5 separate regions of the Homo sapiens genome follow, and all the other regions are linked to region 1. Evidence: promoter capture Hi-C in human tissues and cell types (Jung and others, 2019). All regions are on one chromosome and are shown on one strand. The core of a region is centred on a gene start or on the middle of the fragment in contact, and the rest is flanking DNA. Distances in the headings are between cores, read along the strand shown. Region 1 holds the start of LYZL2 (lysozyme like 2). Region 2 has its middle 130 kb from the start of EPC1. Region 3 has its middle 120 kb from the start of KIF5B. Region 4 overlaps ARHGAP12 (Rho GTPase activating protein 12). Region 5 overlaps KIF5B (kinesin family member 5B).

Region 1 (4,525 bases), core at 1,281-3,780:
TCAAAGAGCAAACATTTTTAATTTTGATCAAGTCCAACTAAACGTTTTTTTTTTCTTTCATGGATTGTGCTTTTGTTGTTGTGTCTAAAATGTTATTGCCAAACCCAAGTCCTGCTGATTTTCTATGTTTACTTATAGAATTTCATAGTTTCATTTTTTACTTTTATGTCTTTGATCCATTTTAGATTAATTTTTATATGAGATATAAGGTATGTATTCTTCAATATGCCTTCTTTTATTTTGTTGGTTTTGAACATGTGTTTTGAGCATAGACAGTCTTATTTTAGTACCATTTGGTGAAAAGAACATCATTTTTCCATTGAATTTAATTAGCATCTTTATAAAAAATGTTGTTGACTAAATATTCATAGATCTATTTCTGGGTTCTCTCTTCTGTTCCACTGGTCTATGGGTCTATCTTCCCACCAATATCATTCTCTCTTGATTACTACAGCTTTATATTGTCTTAAAATCATGTAGAATGAGTCCTTCAATTTTGTTCTTTTTCTGAATAGTTTTGTTTATTGTAGTCCATTTGCCCTTCCGTATAAGTTTTAAGATCATCTTATTGATATTTTCAAAACAATTTTCTGGGATTTTAATTGGAATTCCATTAAATCTATAGATTAAATCTTAACAACATAGAATTTTTAAATTCAGGAACATGGTATTTCTTTTCCACTTAGGTCTTCTTTAGTTTTTCATCTGTCTTACAGTTGTCAGAATATATATCCTGCACAGATTTTGTTAGGTTTACATTTAAGTACGTCATATTCTTGTGTGTGCTGTTGTAAATGATATTTTTTATTTTAGAAGAATCTAAAATATTTTGATTCCTAGTATATAAGAATAGAAATGGCTTTTGTATATTTACTATGTATCCGAAAACTTGCTAAACAAGCATTTTTGAAAAAAAAGACAATCTGTCTCTATTTTCTCATTGACTATAAAATTCCTATTTCAAAGCACTTTGAAAAAGATGTTTGAAGAAAAACCTATGTATTTTCTCGTATTATAGACAATTCACAAGAAAAAGCACACAGGCCAGATGCCGTGGATCATGCCTATAATTTCAGCACTTTGGGAGGTTGAGGCGAGCAGATTGCTTGAGATCAGGAGTTTGAGACCAGTCTGGCAGACATGGTGAAACACCATCTCTACTAAAAATACAAAAATTATCTGGGCGTGGGGGCACATGCCTGTAATACCAGCTACTCGGGAGGCTGAGGCACGAGAATCGCTTCAACCTGCGAGGTGGAGGTTGCAATGAGCCGAGATCACACTACTGAGCTCCAGCCTGGACAACAGAGGGAGACTCTGTCTCAATTAAAAAAAAAAAAAAAGAGAGAGAGAGAGAGAAAAAAGTCCACAAATGGCTTCTGAAGATAAGAAAAGATGCTCAGACAGCTTGAAATAAGGGAAGCTGAAATTGAAACTTTGCTGACAAATTATGTTTCATCTCTAATATTAGCAAATATCTTAACCTTTGGTAATAGGGTATGCTAGCCATCTTCGTCATACAAGCCCACGTGGAAGGCAATTTGGCAATATCTAGCAAAATTACAAAATTACAGTCCTTAACCCAGCAATTCAATTTCCAGGAATGTATCCTACAGATATTCTTGCAAATGTACAAATGACAAATGTACAAGATTACTAATTGTAATATGTTTATCATAGAAGAAAAAAATACCTTAAGTGTGAGTCAATATGGAATTGGCTAAATATGTTATATCTACACAATGTAATACTATATAAACTTAAAACTAGATTTCAACAAGATCTTTGCATTATTTGCAGATGGAATTTAATAAAATACAATAATTAGTTAGGTACAACTAACAACAAACTTATACTGAGATCTACATATTCCAATGAGAATTCATTTCAAATGTGTCATTAAATCTGAACACAGAAATAAATGGACCTTCAAACTAGCTCTTTATTGAGTCACAAAGTGTTAAGCCAAATTTTTAAAAAACAATGAAATCATGTTAATTATACATAAAAATTTTTTATTTCTTTTGTGGCCCTCCTTTGACAATATTTTATTAATTAACAATATAACTATAGCAAAGAAATGTGCTGTTAATTAATTTTTAATGTTAATTTCACCTCTCATTCATTTTCAGATTTTAGTTTTGTGTATGTTGATAATTTATGTAGCATATTAGTACAGAGGTACAGAAGTGTGATTTATAATTTAATATACATCTAAAGAGGATACATGCTTAACTTTATTAATGGAATTTGTGATAAAGTTTGCAGACTGTTGCCTTAGAGAAGAGCTCTCACTTGGACGGGAGGCCCTGGCCAAGTTGTGTAGTGAGGACAGTTGTTGAGAGGAAAAGAGAAAAAACGAGAGGTATTAAGGCCCAGAAGAGAGTTAGCACCTGCTTCAGAACACAAGCGTGCAGGATGATATAGCTTTTAGTGCCAAGAAGTAGAATTCTAGCATCTCTAGGTGGTGAGAAACAAAGGACTAAGAATTTTTCTTTCTCTAACACTCTAAAGAAAGGTTCTTGAGCTAGGAAAGGATTACTCGAGCCTTGTTAGAATCAGACATGGCTTCAGGGGATGCAGGACGCTCCCCTGAGCTGCCTGTCACCGACTAAGTGGAGCAGTGTTTCTTCCGCAGACTCAACTGAGAAGTCAGCCTCTGCGGCAGGCACCAGGAATCTGCCTTTTCAGTAAGACCTAAATTACTCTTATGAAGCCACCTGTCCCTGAGAACCAGCAATGGCAGGTTCTTGAAGGATGTAGAACATGATGCTTGGGGTTATCATTGCTACGGGTTTTGTTTTGACTTGTTTGAGATCAGTTAACATTCTAAGGCAGAGGATGGAAACCAACCTTATTTGTAAGCTCTGCATCTTTTTTTTTTTTTTTGAAACAGGATGTCACTCTGTTGCCCAGGCTGGAGTGCAGTGGCACAATCACAACTCACAACAGCCTCAACCTCCCAGCCTTAAAAGATCCTCCCACCTCAGCCTCCCAAACAGGTGGGACCACAGTCACACACCACTATGCCTGGCTAATTTTTGTGTATTTTGTAGTGACAGAGGTCTACCTTTGTTGCCCAGGCTGGTCTCAAACTCCTGGCTTCAAGCAATTTGCCCTTTTCACCCTCACAAAGTGCTGAGATTACAGGTGTGGGCCACCATGCCCAGCCTAAGCTCTGCATCTTAAACCTCGTTTGTCTGTCCCTCACAGCTTAGCACAATGCTGTACACCACGGACTGGCATGATCTCTCTGAAAAGGGCCAGATAATAATATGTTAGGCTTTGTGGTCTATACAGCCTCTAACACAGCTACTCAACTCTGCCACTGCAGCAGGAAATCAGCCACCAACAATATATTACCAAATGATGAGAGTAGCTATGTTTCAATAAAACTTTACATACAAAAGCGGGCCTGGTTTGCCCACGCTTGCTATTCACGTTTGTAATGTACATGCCCCTCATGCAATGCAGTTCCTTATCTTATTGCTTAGTCACCTTAAAGCCCTGCTTGTTACTCGGTGCGGTGGCCTTGCTGATGACTACTTATCCCTGTTTTGGGCCTAGCCTTTCAATGCAGGAATCCAGCCCCAGGGAGAGAAACTAATGACTAGAGAAGTTTCCAGGCAAGTGCAGAAAATGACACGGGATGAACATATGTAAGAACATCAAGTTCAGGATCCCGAGTAGTTGTCAGAAATTTCACTTCACCCCATCCCAGCAAGGCTGTTGTGTTTGGGGAAGACATTATTTTAAGAGGGGAGGAGATTGTGGAAAATCAGTAGGCAGCAGGAGACAGCGCTCTTGATCCTACTCCCATTTCAGACGATTCTATGGGGGCCTCTTTATTGTCCCTCTGCTCCCCCAGGTGCTTTCCTCCTTTCATGAGGCTTTGTCCTCCATCCCTCTTGCTCCCCAGTCAGGTGCCAGACTTTTAGGAGGCCGCCCGGAGCACTGGTTGTGAAGCTTAGCAAAGCAATGCATTTGCAATCTAAGATAAAACACTAGTACTTTGGAAGCAATGCTCCCACATTTTGAAATGCATCAAGAAAAGAAAAGGAAAGATTAGGTGCTTAATCTTCACCCTTCAATAAACCCCCAAACGATGAATCTTTTTTTTTTTGAGGCGGAGTCTCGCTCTGTCGCCCAGGCTGGAGTGCAGTGGCGCAATCTCCGCTCACTGCAAGCTCAGCCTCCTGGGTTCACGCCATTCTCCTGCCTCAGCCTCCCGAGCAGCTGGGACTACAGACACATGCCACCACACCCGGCTAATTTTTTTGTATTTTTAGTAGAGACGGGGTTTCACCGCATTAGCCAGGATGGTCTTGATCTCCTGACCTCGTGATCCGCCCGTCTCGGCCTCCCAAAGTGCCGGGATTACAGGCGTGAGCCACCGCGCCTGGCCTAGACGATGAATCTTAAAGTTTTCCATTCAGGTCCACGTGTATTTCATCTCTGGCTGAAATGGGGTGTCTGTTTCTACACACCCAGTTGATCCTTGAACAAATGTAGGGGTCGGGGTGCC
Region 2 (4,581 bases), core at 1,691-4,190, 1.6 Mb before region 1:
AAGTGTTGGGATTACAGGTGTGAGACACTGTGCCCAGCCACAATATAATGTTTTATGTATTATTATTGGAGCTATGTACAAAGTGCAGTAGGAACAGAGGGGAATAGCCCCGAGGTTTACCGAACAGGGTCAGGGAATTCTTTTTTTTTTTTTTTCTTGAGACAGAGTCTCACTCTGTCACCCAGGCTGGAGTGCAGTGGCACGATCTTGGCTCACTGCAACCTCTGCCTCCCAGGTTCAAGCAATTCTGCTGACTCAGCCTCCTGAGTAGCTGGGATTACAGGTGTGTGTCACCACACCCAGCTAATTTTTATAGAGACGGGGTTTCACCATGTGGTCCAGATTGGTCTGCAACTCCTGGCCTTAAGTCATCCACCTGCCTTGGCCTCTCAAAGTGCTGGTATTACAGGCATGAGCCACCATGCCCAGCTGGGAATTATTATTTTTTTTAACTTTTATTTTAGGTTCGGGGTACATGTGCAGGTTTATTATACAGGTAAATTTCATGTCACAGGGGTTTGGTGTACAAATTATTCCGTCACCCAGGTAATGAGCATAGTACCCAATATGTAGCTTTTCCATCCTCACTCTTCTCCCTCCCTCCACCCTCTATAAGGCCTCAGTGTCTATTGTTTCCTTCTTTGTGTCCATGTGTTTTCAATGTTTAGCTCCCACTTATAAGTGAGAACATGTGGTATTTGGTTTTCTGTTCCTGTGTTAGTTCACAGGAACAGTATGCAGCCATACTGACAGGATTATGGCCTCCAGCTCCATTTATATTGCTGCAAATGAGATGATCTCCTTCTTTTTTTATGGCTATGTAGTATTCCATGGTGTATATGTACCACATTTTCTTTATCCAGTCTACCGTTGGTTGGCATTTAGGTTGATTTCATGTCTTTGCTACTGAGAATAGTGCTCTAATGAACATACATGTGTATCGGGGGAACCAGCCCCCAATATTTTAACGTAGGTTCTTTCTATTTTTCCCTAAATATTGGCCGGTTTGAGAAATAAAGAGAAAGAGTACAAAGAGAGGAATTTCACAGCTGGGCCTCTGGGGGTGACATCACATATTGGTAGGACCGTGATGACGACCCCAAGCTGCAAAACCAGCAAATTTTTATTAGGGATTTTAAAAGGGGAGGGGGTGTACGAACAGGGAGTAGGTCACAAAGATCACATGCCTCAAAGGGCAATAAAGATCACAAGGTGAAGGCAAAATTAGAACTACTGATGAGGGTCTATGTCCCGCTGTGCACATATTATCTTGATAAACATCTTAACAGGAAACAGGGTTCGAGAGCAGAGAACTGGTCTGACTAGAATTTACCAGGCTGGAATTTCCCAATCCTAGTAAGCCTGAGGGTACTGCAGGAGACCAGGGCGTATTTCAGTTCTTATCTCAACAGCATAAGACAGACACTCCCAGTGTGGCCTTTTATAGACCTCCCCTGAGGAATGCATTCCTTCCCCAGGGTATCCATTATTAGTATTCCTTGCTGGGAAAAGAATTCAGCGATATCTCTCCTACTCACACGTCCATTTATAGGCTCTCTGCAAGAAAAAAAATATGGCTCTATTCTGCCCGACCCTGCAGGCAGTCAGACCTTATGGTTACCTTCCCTTGTTCCCTGAAAATCACTGTTATTCTGTTCTTTTTCAGGTGCACTGATTTCATATTGTTCAAATACATGTTTTACAATCAATTTGTACAATAGTGGTCCTGAGGTGACGTACATTCTCAGCTTAAGAAGATAACATGATTAAGAGATTAAAGACAAGACAGACATAAGAAATTATAAAAGTATTAATTTTAGGAACTGATAAGTGTCCATGAAATCTTCACAATTTATGTTCTTCTGCCTTGGCTCCAGCCAGTCCCTCCGTTCGGGTTGCTGACTTCCCACAGCATGCATGCATGTGTCTTTATGGTAGAATGATTTATATTCCTTTGGGTGTATGCCCAATAATGGGATTACTGAGTCAAATGGTAGTTCTGTTTTAAGTTTTTTGAGAAATTGCCAAACTGCTTTCCACAATGGCTGAACTGATTTACATTCCCACCAACATCTGTTATTTTTTGACTTTTTAATAATAGCCATTCTGATTGGTGTGAGATGGTATCTCACTGTGGTTTTGATCTGCATTTCTCTAATGATCAGTGATGTTAAGCATTTTTTCAAATGCTTGTTGGCTGTGTGTATGTCGTCTTTTGAAAAGTGTCTGTTCATGTCTTTTGCCCACTTTTTAATGGGGTTGTTTTTTGCTTGTTGATTTGTTTAAGTTACCAAGGAAAGCAATTGAACAGAAATGTGAAGGGTGAGTAAAGGAAACCACAGAGTTCCCTAATATGGAGGGTGAAGCTTGTGGAAGGGAACATGGGCCTGCAAGGCTTCACAGGACGGCAGGGGCAACCCTGAAGGCCTTTGTGTGCCAACCCCAGAAGTTTAGATTGTATCATGTGGTTAGCAGGGAGTCACTGAGTAACTTTGTTGTGGGAAGTAAAATACAGGTTGAGTGTCTCTTATTCAAAATGCTTGGGATGAGCAGTGCTTCAGATTTCGGATTTTTTCAGATTTTGAAATATTTACATGTACTTAATGAGATATCTTGGGGTTAGGACCCACGGCTAAACATGAAACTAATTAATGTTTTAACGAAACAGAGTCTGAAGGTAATTTTATACATTATTCATACATTTTATACAATTCATACATCCATACGATTTATACATTAACATTATTCATTAACATTTTATATACACCTTATATGCAGAGTTTGAAGGTAATTTATGCAATATTGTAAATAATTTTGTGCATGAAACCAAGTTTGTGTTAAGTACTTATGTGTGGAATTTTCTACTTTTGGTGTCATGTCGACACTCAGAAAGATTCTGATTTTAGAGCATTTCAGATTTCAGATTTTTATATTAGGGATCCTCAACCTGTAATCAGATTTGTATGTTGGAAAAAAAATTATTCAAGCAGGAGCAATGTGAAGAGACCATTGGAGTAGAAAATGTTAGAGGCAGGGACGATGGCGTGAGAGCCATGCAGACCTAAACCCGGGCAGGACCTACAGAGAAGATGCGAGAGAGAAGGAATGGCCAGGTAGAAGAGTTTGCTGGACTTGGCGATGAATGGGATGTGGAGAGAAGGGGGAGACCCCCAAACCTACCAGATTTCTAGATATCCTGCAGTAGGTTCCACTCTTTCAGTCAAACCAGAACAGCATCCTTTGCAGCCATACTGACACTATCATGCAAATTGACAGGAACCATTTGGTTTCCAAATCAGGCAACTGTTGAATGCCTTGTCTTTGGAAATCAGTATTTCATTCACAATACTGCAAATGCCTGCTAATGAGTGTGACTTGAACAGATGTTAAAATAATGTTTTGGGTAACTAGCGTGCTCTATGAACAAGGTTAGAATCTTCCCATTACAATTTTCCACCACCACACACCTGGCATCTTTGCTGATTGAAACTGTTTGATATCATTCACCATAAATCCTTCTTATCTGGCTAATGCAGCATGAAATTATGTCAATTGAAGCAAAACATAATACACAATAAACACTGGCAAAACCAGTGACTATGACAGCAGCTTTGCATATGGAGTACAAAACAGGTTTTTGGTTTTTTTTTCTTTCTTGGAACATATGGCCAATTCTTTTCTTAAGTGAAATGCATAAAACAAAATAAGGAATGTTTGCTAAATGAGCATTGTAAAGTAAAAATTCACTGGTGATGGAAATAGCAATAAGGTGCACAAAAAGGATCATGGATAAAATTTTCTCTGTCAGAAAGTGGTTTTGACAACTTGGTGTCTTGCAAGTCTACGCAGATCTACTACACCAAATACTCAAGACAAACCTTCAGGGGCAGTCACCGAAGACACACAACTCTCCCATCCTCTGCAGAACTTCTTACTTCTTTGCTCTTACTTAATTTAACAGTTAATCCTTAATAATAACATTTACTGGCCAGGCACACTGGCTCACACCTATAATCCTAGCACTTTGGGAGGCTGAGGCAGGAGGATTGCTTGAGGCCATGAGTTTGAGACCAGCCTGAGCAACATAGCAAGACCTTGTTAATATAAAAAATAAAGAAATGGCTGGGTGCAGTGGCTCAGGTCTGTAATCCCAGCACTTTGGGAGGCCAAGGTGGCTGGATCACCTGAGGTCAGGAGTTCAAGACCAGCCTGGCCAACATGGTGAAACCCTGTCTCTACTAAAAATACAAAAATTAGCTGGGCGTAATGGTGGGCACCTGTAATCCCAGCTATTTGGGAAGTTGAGGAAGGAGAATTGCTTGAACCTGGAAGGCAGAGATTGGAGTGAGCCAAGATCGTGTCATTGCACTCCAGCCTAGGCGACAAGAGTGAGACTCCATCTCAAAAATAAATAAATTAATTTAAAAAATTAGTCAGATGTGGTGGTGTGTGCCTTTAGTTTCAGCTACTTGGGAGGTTGAGGTGAGAGGATCACTTGAGCCCAGGAGTTTGAGGTTGCAGTGAGCTGTGATCACGCCACTGCACTCCAGCCTGGACAGCAGAGCAAGACCCTGTCTCAAA
Region 3 (4,658 bases), core at 631-3,130, 1.5 Mb before region 1:
CTTCAATGGCTCCCTATTACCTACAGAATAAAGCACAAATTCTGCTGCTTGGTTTTCAGCCTCTTCATGACCTAGGCCCAACTATCTTTTTTTTTTTTTCCTTAACTGATCACTTTTTTTTTTTTTGAAGTGAAATTTATGGCCAGGCACAGTGGCTCATGCCTATAATGCCAGCACTTTGGGAGGCTGAGGTGGGCAGATCACTTGAGATCAGGAGTTCAAGACCAGCCTGGCCAACATGGTAAAACCCCTTCGCTACTAAAAATACAAAAATTAGCCGGGCGTGATGGTGCACACCTGTAATCCCAGCTACTTGGGAGGCTGAGGCAGGAGAATTGCTTGAACCCGGCAGACAAAGATTGCAGTGAGCGAGGATGGCAGCACTGCTCTCCAGCCTGGGTGACAGAGCGAGACTCTGTCTCAAAAAAAACAAAAGAAATTTACATAATATTAACCACTTTTGTTCATTTTGAATGACCAATTCAGTCACATTTAGTGCACTCAAATATTGTGCAACCACCAGCTCTCTCAAGTTTCAAGATTTTTTCCTTTACCTGTAAAAGGAAGCCCTATACCCACTAAGTAATCACTCCCCACTTCTCTGTCCACCCACCTCTTGCTAACCTCTAATCCACTTTCTGTCTTGATGGATTTGCCTAACCTGGATGTTTCATATAAATGGAATGATACATATATGGCCTTTTGTAACAGGCTTCTTTCAGGTAGCTTAATGTTTTCAAGGTTCCTTCATATTGTAGCATGTGTCAGTACTTTGTTCCTTTTTATGGCTGAATACTACTTCGTTAAGAGTTGGCTGGGCACCGTGGCTTACATTTGTAATCCCAGCACTTTGGGAGGCCAAGGTGGGTGGATCACAAGGTCAGGAGTTTGAGACCAGCCTGACCAACGTGGTGAAACCCCGTCTCTACTAAAAATACAAAAATTAGCTGGGCATGGTGGCGCGCACCTGTAGTCCCAGCTACTCAGGAGGCTGAGGCAGGAGAATCGCTTGAACCCAGGGAGCAAAAGTTGCAGAGAGCCGAGATCGCACCATTACACTCCTGCCTGGGCTACAGAGCGAGCCTCTGTCTCAAAAAAAAAAAAAAAAAAAAAAAAAAAAGAGTTGGCTGGGCGCCGTAGCTCACGCCTGTAACCCCAGCACTTTGGGAGGCCGAGGTGGGTGGATCACTTGAGGTCAGGAGCTTGAGATCAGTCTGGCCAACACAACAAAACCCCATCTCTACTAAAAATACAAAATTTAGCCGGGTGCAGTGGTGGGCGCCTATAATTGCAGCTACTCAGGAGATTGAGACAGGAGAATCGCTTGAACCCGGGAGGCAGAAGTTGCAGTGAGCCGAGATTGCGCCACTGCACTCCAGCTTGGGTGACAGAGCAAAACTCTGTCTCCAAAAAAAAGTATACCACATTTGTTTATCCATTCATCAACGGATGGGCTGTTTCCACCTTTGGGTATCACAAATAATGCTGTTGGCTGGGCATGGTGGATCATGCCTGTAATCCCAGCACTTTGCAAGGCCAAGGCAGGCAGATCACCTGATCTCAGGCTCAACATCACAAAACCCTGTCTCTACTAAAAATACAAAAAATTAGCCAGGTATGGTCTTATAATCCCAGCTACACTGGAGGCTGAGGCAGGAAAATTGCTTGAGCGCCGGTGGTGGAGAATGCAGTGAGCCAAGATTGCATCACTACACTCCAGCCTGGGTGATGGGAGTGAAACCCTGTCTCAAAAAAAATTAAAAGCTTAAACAAATAAATAATGCTGCTATAAACACTTGTGTATAAATTTCTGTGTGGACATATGTTTTCATTTCTCTTGGGTGTATACTTAGGAGCGGAATTGCTGGGTCATATGGAAACTCTATGTTTAACTTTCTGAGAAACTGCCAGACTGTTTTCCACAGTGGCTGCACCCTTTATACATTTGCACCAGCAATGCTGAAGGGTTCCAGTTTCTCTATACCCTCACCAACTCTTTTTTTTATTTGAGCCATCCTAGTTGAGGTGGTATCTCATTTTGGTTGTGATTTAATTTCCCTAATGACCAATGACGTGGAAAATCTTTTCATGTGCTTTTTGGCCATGCGTATATCTTCTCTGGAGAAATGTCTATTCATGTCCTTTGCCTGTTTTTTAACTGAGTTATCTGTTTATTTTTTTTGTTTTCTTTTTTTGAGATGGAGTCTCGCTCTGCTGCCCAGGCTGGAGAGTGTGGTGGTGCAATCTCGGCTCACTGCAACCTCTGCCGCCTGGGTTCGAGCGATTCTCCCACCTCAGCCTCCCGAGTAGCTGGGACTACAGGTGCCCGCCATGCCCAGCTAATTTTTGTGTTTTTAGTTAAGACGGGGTTTCGCCATATTGGCCAGGCTAGTCTTGAACTCCTGGCCTCAGGTGATCCACCCGTGTCAGCCTCCCTAAGTGCTGGATTACAGGCGTGTGCCACCATGCCAGGCCCTATGTTATGTTTTTGTTGTTGAGTTGTAAGAGTTCTTTATATATTCTGAATATTGAACCCTTATGAGATATATGATTTGTTAATATTTTCTCCCATTCTGTAGGTTGTCTTTCACATTCTTGATAATGTCCTTTGATGCAAAAGATTTATATTTATTTATTTATTTGGGGGCTTTCCGGCAAAACTGGAAAGCCGGCTAGACAAATTCTAAAAGAGCTGTAACACTCAAAAGATTTTCTTTTAAGAAAAAGAAAGGGAAGAGGAAGAACTGTATCTCACTTTTGTTGCTTTCTATATTTTATATATATATGTATATATACACATATATATATACATATATATACACATATATATACATATATACACATATATATATACATATATACACATATATATACATATATATATACATATATACATATATATACACATATATACACATATATATACGCATATATATACATATATATATACATATATACATATATATACACATATATACATATATACACATATATACATATATATACACATATATATACACATATATATACACATATATATACATATATATATATATATGTATGTATGTATATTTAAAACCAAGGCTGGGCACAGTGGCTCATGCTTATAATTCAGTGCTTTGGGAGGCCAAGGTGGGAAGATATCTTGAGGTCAGAAGTTCAAGACCAGACTGGCCAGGACAGTGAGACCCCGTCTCCATAAAAACTTTTAAGAATAGCCAGGTGTGGTGGTGCATGCCTGTAGTCCTAGCTACTTGAAAGGCTAATGTGGGAGGTTTACTTGAGCCCAGGAGTTTGGGGCTGCAGTGAGCTATGAGTGTACCACTGTTTCAGCCTGGGTGACACAGTGAGACCCTGTCTGTAAAACAAAAATTAAAAAAATTAAGAAACTCCAGAAATTTCTGTGTAACAAAATGCCCATTTGCCCTTGAGGTAGTTCTACTCTACTCTAATAAGCATAACAAACAAAACCAGGACCTAAAACCACTTGTCAATGGGACTGTTTCTTGTATTCTCTTTTCCCTTTCTTCTCTGTTATGATCTGAAGCTTCTTTTTTTTTTTTTTTAAGACTTAGTCTCGCTCTGTCGCCCAGGCTGGAGTGCAGTGGCGCGATCTCGGCTCACTGCAAGCTCCGCCTCCCGGGTTCACGCCATTCTCCTGCCTCAGCCTCCCGAGAAGTTAGGACTACAGGTGCCCGCCACCACGCCCCTGGCTAATTTTTTATATTTTTAGTAGAGACGGGGTTTCACCATGTTAGCCAGGATGAGCTGGATCTCCTGACCTCGTGATCCGACCGCCTGGGCCTCCCAAAGTGCTGGGATTACAGGCGTGAGCCACCACGCCCGGCCATGAGCTGAAGCTTCTAATACCATGTGCATGTTAAGGTTCCTATTCCTGCCTGGCTCTTGTTCTTTTCAGATTGTCAGTTAGCAGCTCTATTGTTAAGTACAAATCACTTTCATTCCCCTTATTAGTCCCGGACCCCAGAGAGGTGGCCTTTCCCCTGGGGTGGGAGGTGTGGGGGGAGGTCCCTTATGTTGTGGGGGGTGGGACGCGGCAGGTCAGAGGGGTCCCTGCTCCATCTCAGGCACAGCCCTGCCTTCCTTCACACCCTTTGCGCAGTTGTTCTTTTCTTTTCTTTTTTTTTTTTTTTGAGACAAGATCTCACTGTGTCACCCAGGCTGGAGTGCAGTGGCAAGATCTTGGCTCACTGCAACCTCCGCCTCCTGGGTTCAAGTGATTCTCCTGCCTCAGCCTCCCGAGTAGCTGGGATTACAGGTGCGTACCACCACACCTGGCTAATTTTTGTATTTTTAGTAGAGATGGGGTTTCACCATGTTGGCCAGGCTGGTCTCAAATTCCTGACCTCAGGTGATCTGCCCACCTCGGCCTCCCAAAGTGCTGGGACTACAGGCGTGAGCCACCGTGCCCGGCCTTATTAAGCCGTTTTAAGAATTAATGGAGGCCAGGCGTGGTGGCTCACGCCTGTAGTCCCAGCACTTTGGGAGGCCAAGACAGGAGGATCACCTGAGGTCTGGAGTTCGAAACCAGCCTGGCCAACATGGTGAAGCCCCATCTCTACTTAAAAACTACAAAAATTAGCCAGGGATGGTGGTGCCTGCCTGTAGTCCCAGATATTTGGGTGGCTGAGGCAGGA
Region 4 (4,476 bases), core at 494-2,993, 1.2 Mb before region 1:
TGAAATGTAAAGGTTTTTTAAATCATCAGGCTTCTTGTAGCATGACTAACAGTTTTTCTGTAATTTTTAGGTGTGTTCATGAAAACAGAATTAACTATCCCTATGGCATATTTCATTATGTTTGGATACTTTCAGTCCTAAATTCCTTTATAAATAATCTCAATTTATCAGTCATAACAAGCATAATATTTTGGTACTACAAGTTACTATAAAATTGGTCTTTGTTGAATTTAAAGGTGTAGTGTTAGAAACAGCCTTCATACATGTGTATAAGATGGACTAATAGAAAACAACGAAAGTAACAGACCAGTTTCTAGTTTCTAGTTTGTAAGGATCTTGTGTTGAATATAGAGACCACATTAAAGGAATGACATTCTGGAGTCTGTGCTATTGAAGATATGCTTGAAAATATATTAGTGTTGAGATTAATCTAGGTAAGAAAAATACCTAGAGATTTCTAATAGGAAAAATTCACTCAACCAAGAACCAGATTACAATTCAGGATAAATAGGAATCTCCCAAATACCATATATACTGTTCTAAGTCAAACCATTGTTGAACCAACTCTACCGCCTCTTCATACCAGAACAAATAGGATGATTATTTTGATAATTTATGCTTAAAATTTCTTACTCCTTTTTCTTTTTTTCGACATCATAAAATGTCAAACAATCTTACTCCTTTTTAATCTCTCAATTCATTTTTTAAAATTAATTTTCAATCTCTTGCTTTAAATAACTTGCATGCTTTCATCTCATTGTCCCAGAGTTGCAAGAATATGATTTTTTTGCGATTAGAGATTTACTTATTTTTGGTAGAAATGTCTTTTTTACCCTCTACCTTACCCTTTGCAAACAGATGCATAAGTTTCTTAACATAAGGCAGTATTTTAGGTTTTGAAAAAGGGACTGACTACCAGAACAAACTAGCTAATATGTGATAAGGGATGAAGTGTGTATAACCTGAATTGTAATCACAGCAACCTAATACAGATGCTCTGCAACTTAGGGTGAGGTTATATCCCAGTAAACCCACATAAGTTGAAAATACCATTAATTGAAAATACCACAAGGTGAAATGCATGTAATACACCTAACCCACTGTACATCATGGCTTAGCCTAGCCTACCTTAAATGTGCTCTGAACATTTACATTAACCTACAGTGGGGCAAAATCATTCAGTAACATGGTACACTGTAGAATATCAATTATTTACCGTTGTAATCTGTTTACCCTGGTAATCAGGTGGCTGACTGGAAGCTGGGGCTAGATGCCTCTGTGCAGCATCATGAGAGAGTGTCATATTGAATATTGTTAGCCCAGGAAAAGATCAAAATTTCAAGTATGTTTTCTAGTGAATGCCTATCACTTTCCCATCACCTTAAAGTTGAACAATCATAAGTCAAGGACCATCTATTATTGTATAGCAAATGTTGTTGTGATGACATAGGTCCTAATTCAGTTTACAGATAACCTTGGAAGGGTAGCCGTATGTCTGTGTGTGTATGTGTGAATGCATCTGTTTCTGCCTTTTTTTTCTGTTTTTACTAAAACTATTCATAGATGTATAAGGTGTATATTTATATGCATATATCTAAATATAGATAAATGTATACATGTAAAATTATTTCTTGTTTATAATAGTTATAATTGTACATATGTTATTACTGTATTTGTGGTTTTTATTTCTGTGGGACTGAATGTGCTATGAAAAATATAATTATCATTTTATTCAGTTACTTATTTTCTACTTTATGAATCATCAGATCTTCCATCTTTCTCATACTGTTTTACTATCAGACAGTCTTAGGAATCAAAAATTGATCTGAAGTTGTCAGAAAAAAATACTTAAGTGAGATTTGGATCTTAAGTTAAATTTTTTTGAAGTTTTTTATTCAATGTGATTTTAATATTTTCTCCATTAATAGTACCTTGTTTGATTTATAAACTTGTCCCTTCAAGGGCTTCCATGTAAACTTTCACTGCTACTAGTTTCTGTATTTACAAATTGTGTGGGATATAAACCCGAAGACATTTTTCCAAATCAGTAAATGTTGAGTTAATAGTTTTTTTGCAAGTGTTACTTAAAACAAATTCCCAGGTTGGTTGACAGCACCTTCTCCAGGTTTATAGACATAGAAAACTAGAATGATACCTACGTGGAGATGAATGTTCAAAGGAACTTTTTGGTTTGATAGAAACAAATTAATAATAGGTAATGGTGTATGATTTAAAAAATTCTCTTTTTCTGAAATTATTCAAAACATCTAAGGAAATGGAGAAAATTTAAGTGGAGGTGGGCTACTGCTACCAAAAAAAAGTTTTTCAGTCTTACCCTCCATGAATAGTCCTATCAACATCTGTAATAGAAATCATATTCTGTGTTTTAATATTGACAAAGCAGACTGCTTAAAAAAAAAACACGTTATTGGTTTGGTCTTATGATACTCTTGTAGGCTTAGACATTAAAATTTTTTTTTCTGGGGAGTTATTAATATTTAAATCGTAGGTTTCTTTCTTGAATTTAAAATATCTTATTTCTAATTTTTGGAAAGTTTTCTATAAATTACCTTAAATACTAATAGCAATTTAATTTCTTATATAGCTTTTGACTAAAATTAAATTCTCATTCTGGCATTTGCTAAGGTATTTCTGTGACCTTGCCTAATCCTGGGTATTTATACTTACCATACCAAGAGCAAGTTAGTATCATGATTATAACTTATTTATCCAGAAGTGTTTAGGTTTTACTTATTTTAATATGGTTAATTCAAACTGATATAACATCATGATTTTAAGGCAGCTTGTATCATTTCTTTTGAGTAATTCCATATGCATTATTTAAATTTAACTGTAATTGCTATAAAAAGCACCATATTTTATAAACTTTTAATAACGTTTGTAGTTTTAAAATCATTACCTTATTAGCTTGGAGCTGAATATAGAACGAAAATAACGAGGAAAAAATTTGTTATTCTCTCTTACTAAGCTCTCCCACTGTGAGTAGAGGCAGAAATATAATTATATAAAATAGAGTAACTTTTTTCATTACTTATTTCTTGTAGGAATCTCCAACTGCCTCAAAACCCTGCTTTCCTGAAAATGAGTCTTCTCCCTCCTCACCAAAGCACCAAGATACAGTTAGTATGATAGAAGCATATCTTATAATGTAGTCCAGTTATTTCAATCAATTTTAGCAAGTTAATTTACTCTTAATGTAATGTTTAAATGAGCTTCTATTAAATTTCATTGGTTTTTCTAAAAAATCACAATCAAAATAAGTTTAACAATCAGATTTTATTGATTTAAAAGTCCCCCTTTTGTTTAAAATATGGTATCTTACATGATTAAATTATATACCATATTTTTAAGTGATGAACTTATATTTGTTTTTAAAAATAAATATAAAATTCCCAGACAATACTATGACATTATACTTTACTCTTTTTTTCCTCAGGCCAGCAGTCCAAAGGTAAGAAGCAATCCTCTCCTTCTTAATAGGCATAGACACCTTCATTTTCTATGCTGTAAAATATATTGCCAAGTCTGTGCCAGATGAATATTGGAAATAATATAGCTTAACTGTAAGTTCTCCTAAACTGGAAAACCTCCATGTGACTTCTGTTAAGATACCTGTCTTAACTCTGATGAAATTTTACTTAATTTCTGTATTTATACTCATTCCCAGTCTTTTCTGTTGCTGATCATGCTATTCCCCTTCAATGGCTTCTGGGTTTTTTTTCGTTACCGTTTTTTAAATAGAGACATGGTTGCGCTCTGTTGTCCAGGCTGGAGTGTAGTAGAACCATCATAGCTCACTGCAGCCTCAACCACCTGCCCCTCCCCCACCAGGCTTAGGTGATTCTCCCGTCTCAGCCTCCCTAGTAGCTGGGACCACAGGCATGCACCAGCACGCTCTGCTAAATTTTTTTTTTTTTTTTTTTTTGAGATGGAGCCTCACTCTGTTGCCCAGGCTGGAGTGCAATGGCATGATCTCGGCTAACTGCAGCCTCCACCTCCCAGGTTCAAGTGATTCTTCTGTCTCAGCCTGCCGAGTAGCTGGGATCACAGGCATGCGCCACAACACCTGGCTAATTTTTTGTATTTTTAGTAGAGACGGGGTTTCGCTATGTTGACCAGGCTGGTCTCAAACTCCTGCCCTCAAGTGATCCACCCACCCTGGCCCCCCAAAGTGCTGGGATTACAGGCATGAGCCACTGTGCCTGGCCCGCTTGGCTAATTTTTTAAAAATTTTTATGGAGATAAGGGGTCTTGCTTTGTTGCCCAGGCTGGTCTTGAACTTGTGGCCTCAAGTGATATGCCTGCCTTGGCCTCCCAAAGTGCTGGGATTACAGATGTGAGCTACCACACCCAGCCTGTTTTCTTGTAGAATGAAGCCCTAAAATTCTTAATGAGCATGACAAGGCTGTGCATGCTCTGGCTCCTGAGTGCCTCCACCACCTCATCTCATATTTC
Region 5 (4,441 bases), core at 1,904-4,403, 1.4 Mb before region 1:
TCTTTCAAAGATTATCTAATCTGAGAAATCTCCTAAGCTATTTCTTCAGCCAACATTGCTAATTTATTGTTCTGACCTATCTTTAACATAGATACTAGCTGGGCATGGTGGCACATGCCCGTAATACCAGCTACTGGGGAGGCTGAGGCAGGAGAATTGGTTGAACCCGGGAAGCGGAGGTTGCAGTGAGCTGGGATCAAGCCACTGCACTCCAGCCTGGGTGACAGAGTGAGACTCAGTCTCCAAAAAAAAAACACCACAACATAGATATTTAGATATTTTATATATTTTTAAAAGAAGCAGATTTGCTTATATAATGTGTTTAAAACTCAGTCTCTGTTTTCTAACAGTTACAACATCAACATTATGCATTAGCCAATTTTAGAAGGTTCCTGTTTTCTAATGTAGCAAAGGGGACTAACAGATTAATGAACTACAAATTTACATTTAAATTGGTTATTTTCAAGAGTACCTACAAACTACAGATAAAATTTGATGTCTCTCTAATCAAACTCTTAAGAGTAGTACTCAAGAAATGGTGGTATGCTTGGCAAATAAGATCATGAAGCTTTTCATGTTCTTTTTTCTTTTTTACTGGTTATTGATGACATATGAACATTTTAGAAAATGTAAAGAAAATTATAAACTTGTAATTTTGTTTCATTCTTTTGAAATCTTATGTATAGGTTAGTAAAACTGGAGCTGAAGGTGCTGTGCTGGATGAAGCTAAAAACATCAACAAGTCACTTTCTGCTCTTGGAAATGTTATTTCTGCTTTGGCTGAGGGTAGTGTGAGTATACATGTCTTCTATCTCCCTGTTACCTTATGGGGCATTATTTAAATATAGGTGTATATGTGTGCCTGGGTGTGTATGAGAGAGAGAGAGAGAAAGAGAGATTGAGATTCAATGTGTTTGAATCAGTATGTGTAAGTTAGTTGTCTTTTGGGAGTTTATTTTATAATAACATTTTATTATACTGGTCTTGTTTTCTTTCTTTGTTTTTGTATGCAGACATATGTTCCATATCGAGATAGTAAAATGACAAGAATCCTTCAAGATTCATTAGGTGGCAACTGTAGAACCACTATTGTAATTTGCTGCTCTCCATCATCATACAATGAGTCTGAAACAAAATCTACACTCTTATTTGGCCAAAGGTTTGTTGTTAAGAAAGTACAAAACCTAAATTTAGATAGACCTTTTGTTTATAAAATGTAGGAAAATGTGAGCTGTTATTCCAACCTGTACATACTGTTTTGTGCTAGACACACTCAGTTTGAATTGATGACAGATAATACAAGGTGGGTCTGATTTTTAGACTGCTTGGTTTAAGTTTTAGTACACATTAAAGTCAGATGTAATTTTAGTCAAATTTGTGTGACAAGCTGTAATTTGGTATTAAAGAAAATAAGCATTTGAATCAAATAATGAGGTCAAAGCCTGGCAAACATAATCCTCTGTTAAGCCTGTAGACATGCATGACAGGTTAATATAATCTGTATGAGATGATTAGGAAAATCAGTAATGATGATTCCGTCTTTGACTTTCAACAGTAATTTCTTAATTCAGCCTTGCAAACAAATTGGAAAAATATAGGCCTTTGTCTTTTATTTTTAGTGGTTTGTTGATTTTTTTTTTTTTAAAGCTATTCACAGATTTTGGAGCAGACTCAAATTTAGTTGAGTTGTAAATAACGTCATATGTTGCGGCTTTTAGTATTTAGTCTAAGAGATTACTGGACAAGCATAAGTTTCTTAGCCATATATACATATATTCCATATAGATAAAATTAAAAATAATTTCAGTCTCATCCTTTTTTTCCTCCAATTACATCTCTTAGGGCCAAAACAATTAAGAACACAGTTTGTGTCAATGTGGAGTTAACTGCAGAACAGTGGAAAAAGAAGTATGAAAAAGAAAAAGAAAAAAATAAGATCCTGCGGAACACTATTCAGTGGCTTGAAAATGAGCTCAACAGATGGCGTAATGGTAATAACTTAAGAATTTGTCATCTTCAGTTTGTTAAATACAGATTTAGAGCATAGAAACGTAGAAATAGTTCAGCAAAATCAGTAAGTGACTAGATCAAGAAATTTAATAGACATCGAAATAATTTTTAAAAAAATTAATAGAAATCCTGGAGCTGAAAAATAAAATGAGCAAAATGCAAGAGACCATCAGTAGTAGAATTAATTAAGCAGAAGAATCTGAACTTGAAGACAGATTATTTGAAAATAACACAGAGAAGAAAAAGTTTGAAAGAACGAGGCTGGGTGCACTGGCTCATGCCTGTAATCCTAGCACTTTGGGAGGCCAAGGTGGGCAGATCACTTGAGGTCAGGAGTTAGAGACCAGCCTGGCCAACATGTTGAAACCCCATCTCTACTGAAAACACCAAAATTAGCCTGGCATGGTGCTGAGCGCCTGTAATCCCAGCTAATCAGGAGTCTTGAGGCAGTAGAATTGCTTGAACCCTGGAGGCAGAGGTTGCAGTGAGCCTAGATTGCACCACTGCACTCCAGCCAGGGTGACAGATTGAGACTCTGTCTCAAAAAAAAAAAAAAAAATTTTTAAAGGAATGAAATTGAAATTAGCTTTAGACGTCGTTTTTTTATTAACCACTTTATTTTCTTATTTTAGGGGAGACGGTGCCTATTGATGAACAGTTTGACAAAGAGAAAGCCAACTTGGAAGCTTTCACAGTGGATAAAGATATTACTCTTACCAATGATAAACCAGCAACCGCAATTGGAGTTATAGGAAATTTTACTGATGCTGAAAGAAGAAAGTGTGAAGAAGAAATTGCTAAATTATACAAACAGCTTGATGACAAGGTAGGTATTGCTTGATTTAGGTCTGCTTTATATTAGGATACTATTGACATGGGTGTTTTTATTTTCTAACTTTTCTCATTTCAGTGCTGTGGGCACTTAGGATCTTTATGCATCTTCCTTGATTTCTGTTAATCTTGTAAAAATTATTGTATTAACAAAATAAAAAGTCATAATTTCAATTTCTGTGTGGAAACTGTATGAGCATGTATCTTTTCTTCCCCCTCTTTTTAAGCTAAAAGAACTTTATAAGGCAGCAGTCCCCAACCTTTTTGGCACCAGGGACTGGTTTCAGGGAAGACAGTTTTTCCGTGGATCAGGTCGGGGAGATGGTTTTGGGATGAAACTTCCACCTTGGATTATCAGGCATTAGATTCTCATAAGGATCCTCTAACCTAGATCTCTTGCATGCACAGCTGATAATAGAGTTCGCGCTCTTAATGATATTCTAATGCTGCTGATCTGGCAGAAGGCGGAGCTCAAGTGGTAATGCTTGCTGCTCACCTCCTGCTGTGCTTCTTGGTTCCTAACAGGCTTCCAGTACTGCTTTGTGGCCTGGGGGCTTGGGGACCCCTGTTCTAATGAAAATTTGGCATTGGGTCATTGGGAGCCTCAATGATACCAATTGTTAGAATCAGGGCTCTGAAGACTCCAATAAAAGATGATGTGAGAGATTAAGGGAAACACAATAGAGTGGAAATAATATCTTCCTGCTTTGCATATAGAAGTAATGTCAATAGTATGAATAATAGCAAACTAAGAACGTAATAGAATGGAAGGCAAGAACAAGAGTAGTAAAGAGATTAGAAGAAAATATTTTCTTAAGTTGATATTTTTAATATATTTTAAGCAGAGATGGCAGGTTCGAAGTACATGACCATTATAAGTATTGATAATTGAAAGAAATTCCTTTTGTTTTGCCATTTTCTTAAAAGAGATTAAAATAAGCAATGTTGAATTTAGAGAAATGGTTTTGAAATATTTCTGGGGAGTAGTAATCTTATAACCTGTATTGGGAAACAACTAGAACCAGGTTGTTAGCTACTGGTTAACCGGATACTTCACAATTCTAGGATGAAGAAATTAACCAGCAAAGTCAACTGGTAGAGAAACTGAAGACGCAAATGTTGGATCAGGAGGAGGTGAGTTGAATACCTTTTACATTGCTTCCAGAAAAGCTTTATAGTTTTGTTTTCTGAATCCCATTGACTTTGTCTTTAATAGTTGTATAATTTTGGGTATGACTGTCTTTGTGGGAATAAGAATGTCACATGGATAAAGTGAATTTTTACTTATTCATCGTATCTACCCAGATACAATCTGTTGTTCATTTCCGCCATCTTTTTTTTCACCCTGGTTCTTGACATTTCTCTTCTTGTCACTTACTTTGGATCCTCATTTTATCTTCTCACCCAGCAGAGCAGGGGGATAATTGAAAAGCAGTCCTTTAAATTTTTTTGTGGGGGTGGTGGGCAGGGTGAAGACAAAGACTGCTTCGGTAAGAAAGAGATACTCTCCATCAGTGAACTTAATCCTGGTCAGATCATCTTTCAACTATAGCATTTCATATTTCAACTATAGCATTATTCCTCAAAGGGGCACTATTGA

The links. Contacts are between HindIII fragments. The study calls those that stand out against the background at their distance.
Region 2: a contact is called between a fragment that was not itself captured here and the fragment with the promoter of LYZL2 in region 1, in 1 of the 25 tissues and cell types used here (dorsolateral prefrontal cortex).
Region 3: a fragment that was not itself captured here is called in contact with the fragment with the promoter of LYZL2 in region 1 in 2 of the 25 tissues and cell types used here (lymphoblastoid cells and spleen).
Region 4: a contact is called between a fragment that was not itself captured here and the fragment with the promoter of LYZL2 in region 1, in 1 of the 25 tissues and cell types used here (lymphoblastoid cells).
Region 5: a contact is called between a fragment that was not itself captured here and the fragment with the promoter of LYZL2 in region 1, in 1 of the 25 tissues and cell types used here (mesenchymal stem cells).

The regions. Positions count from the first base shown.
Region 1 is chr10:30,627,758-30,632,282 of GRCh38, reverse strand. It overlaps LYZL2 (lysozyme like 2), which reads left to right and starts at 2,530. Exons shown (of 5, transcript NM_183058.3): 1 at 2,530-2,690. The HindIII fragment of the contact is 10,435 bases long and covers 1-4,270 here.
Region 2 is chr10:32,216,226-32,220,806 of GRCh38, reverse strand. No RefSeq gene overlaps it. Among named protein-coding and RNA genes, the nearest start is that of EPC1, 130 kb to the left of the region's middle. The HindIII fragment of the contact is 4,027 bases long and covers 927-4,581 here.
Region 3 is chr10:32,171,729-32,176,386 of GRCh38, reverse strand. It overlaps the pseudogene RNU7-22P. Among named protein-coding and RNA genes, the nearest start is that of KIF5B, 120 kb to the right of the region's middle. The HindIII fragment of the contact is 5,563 bases long and covers 1-4,658 here.
Region 4 is chr10:31,838,301-31,842,776 of GRCh38, reverse strand. ARHGAP12 (Rho GTPase activating protein 12) reads left to right here. Exons shown (of 20, transcript NM_018287.7): 8 at 3,066-3,140; 9 at 3,458-3,472. Among named protein-coding and RNA genes, the nearest start is that of ARHGAP12, 88 kb to the left of the region's middle. The HindIII fragment of the contact is 6,668 bases long and covers 1-4,476 here.
Region 5 is chr10:32,032,240-32,036,680 of GRCh38, reverse strand. It overlaps KIF5B (kinesin family member 5B), which reads left to right. Exons shown (of 26, transcript NM_004521.3): 9 at 687-791; 10 at 1,014-1,159; 11 at 1,843-1,991; 12 at 2,643-2,836; 13 at 3,907-3,975. Among named protein-coding and RNA genes, the nearest start is that of KIF5B, 22 kb to the left of the region's middle. The HindIII fragment of the contact is 3,042 bases long and covers 1,633-4,441 here.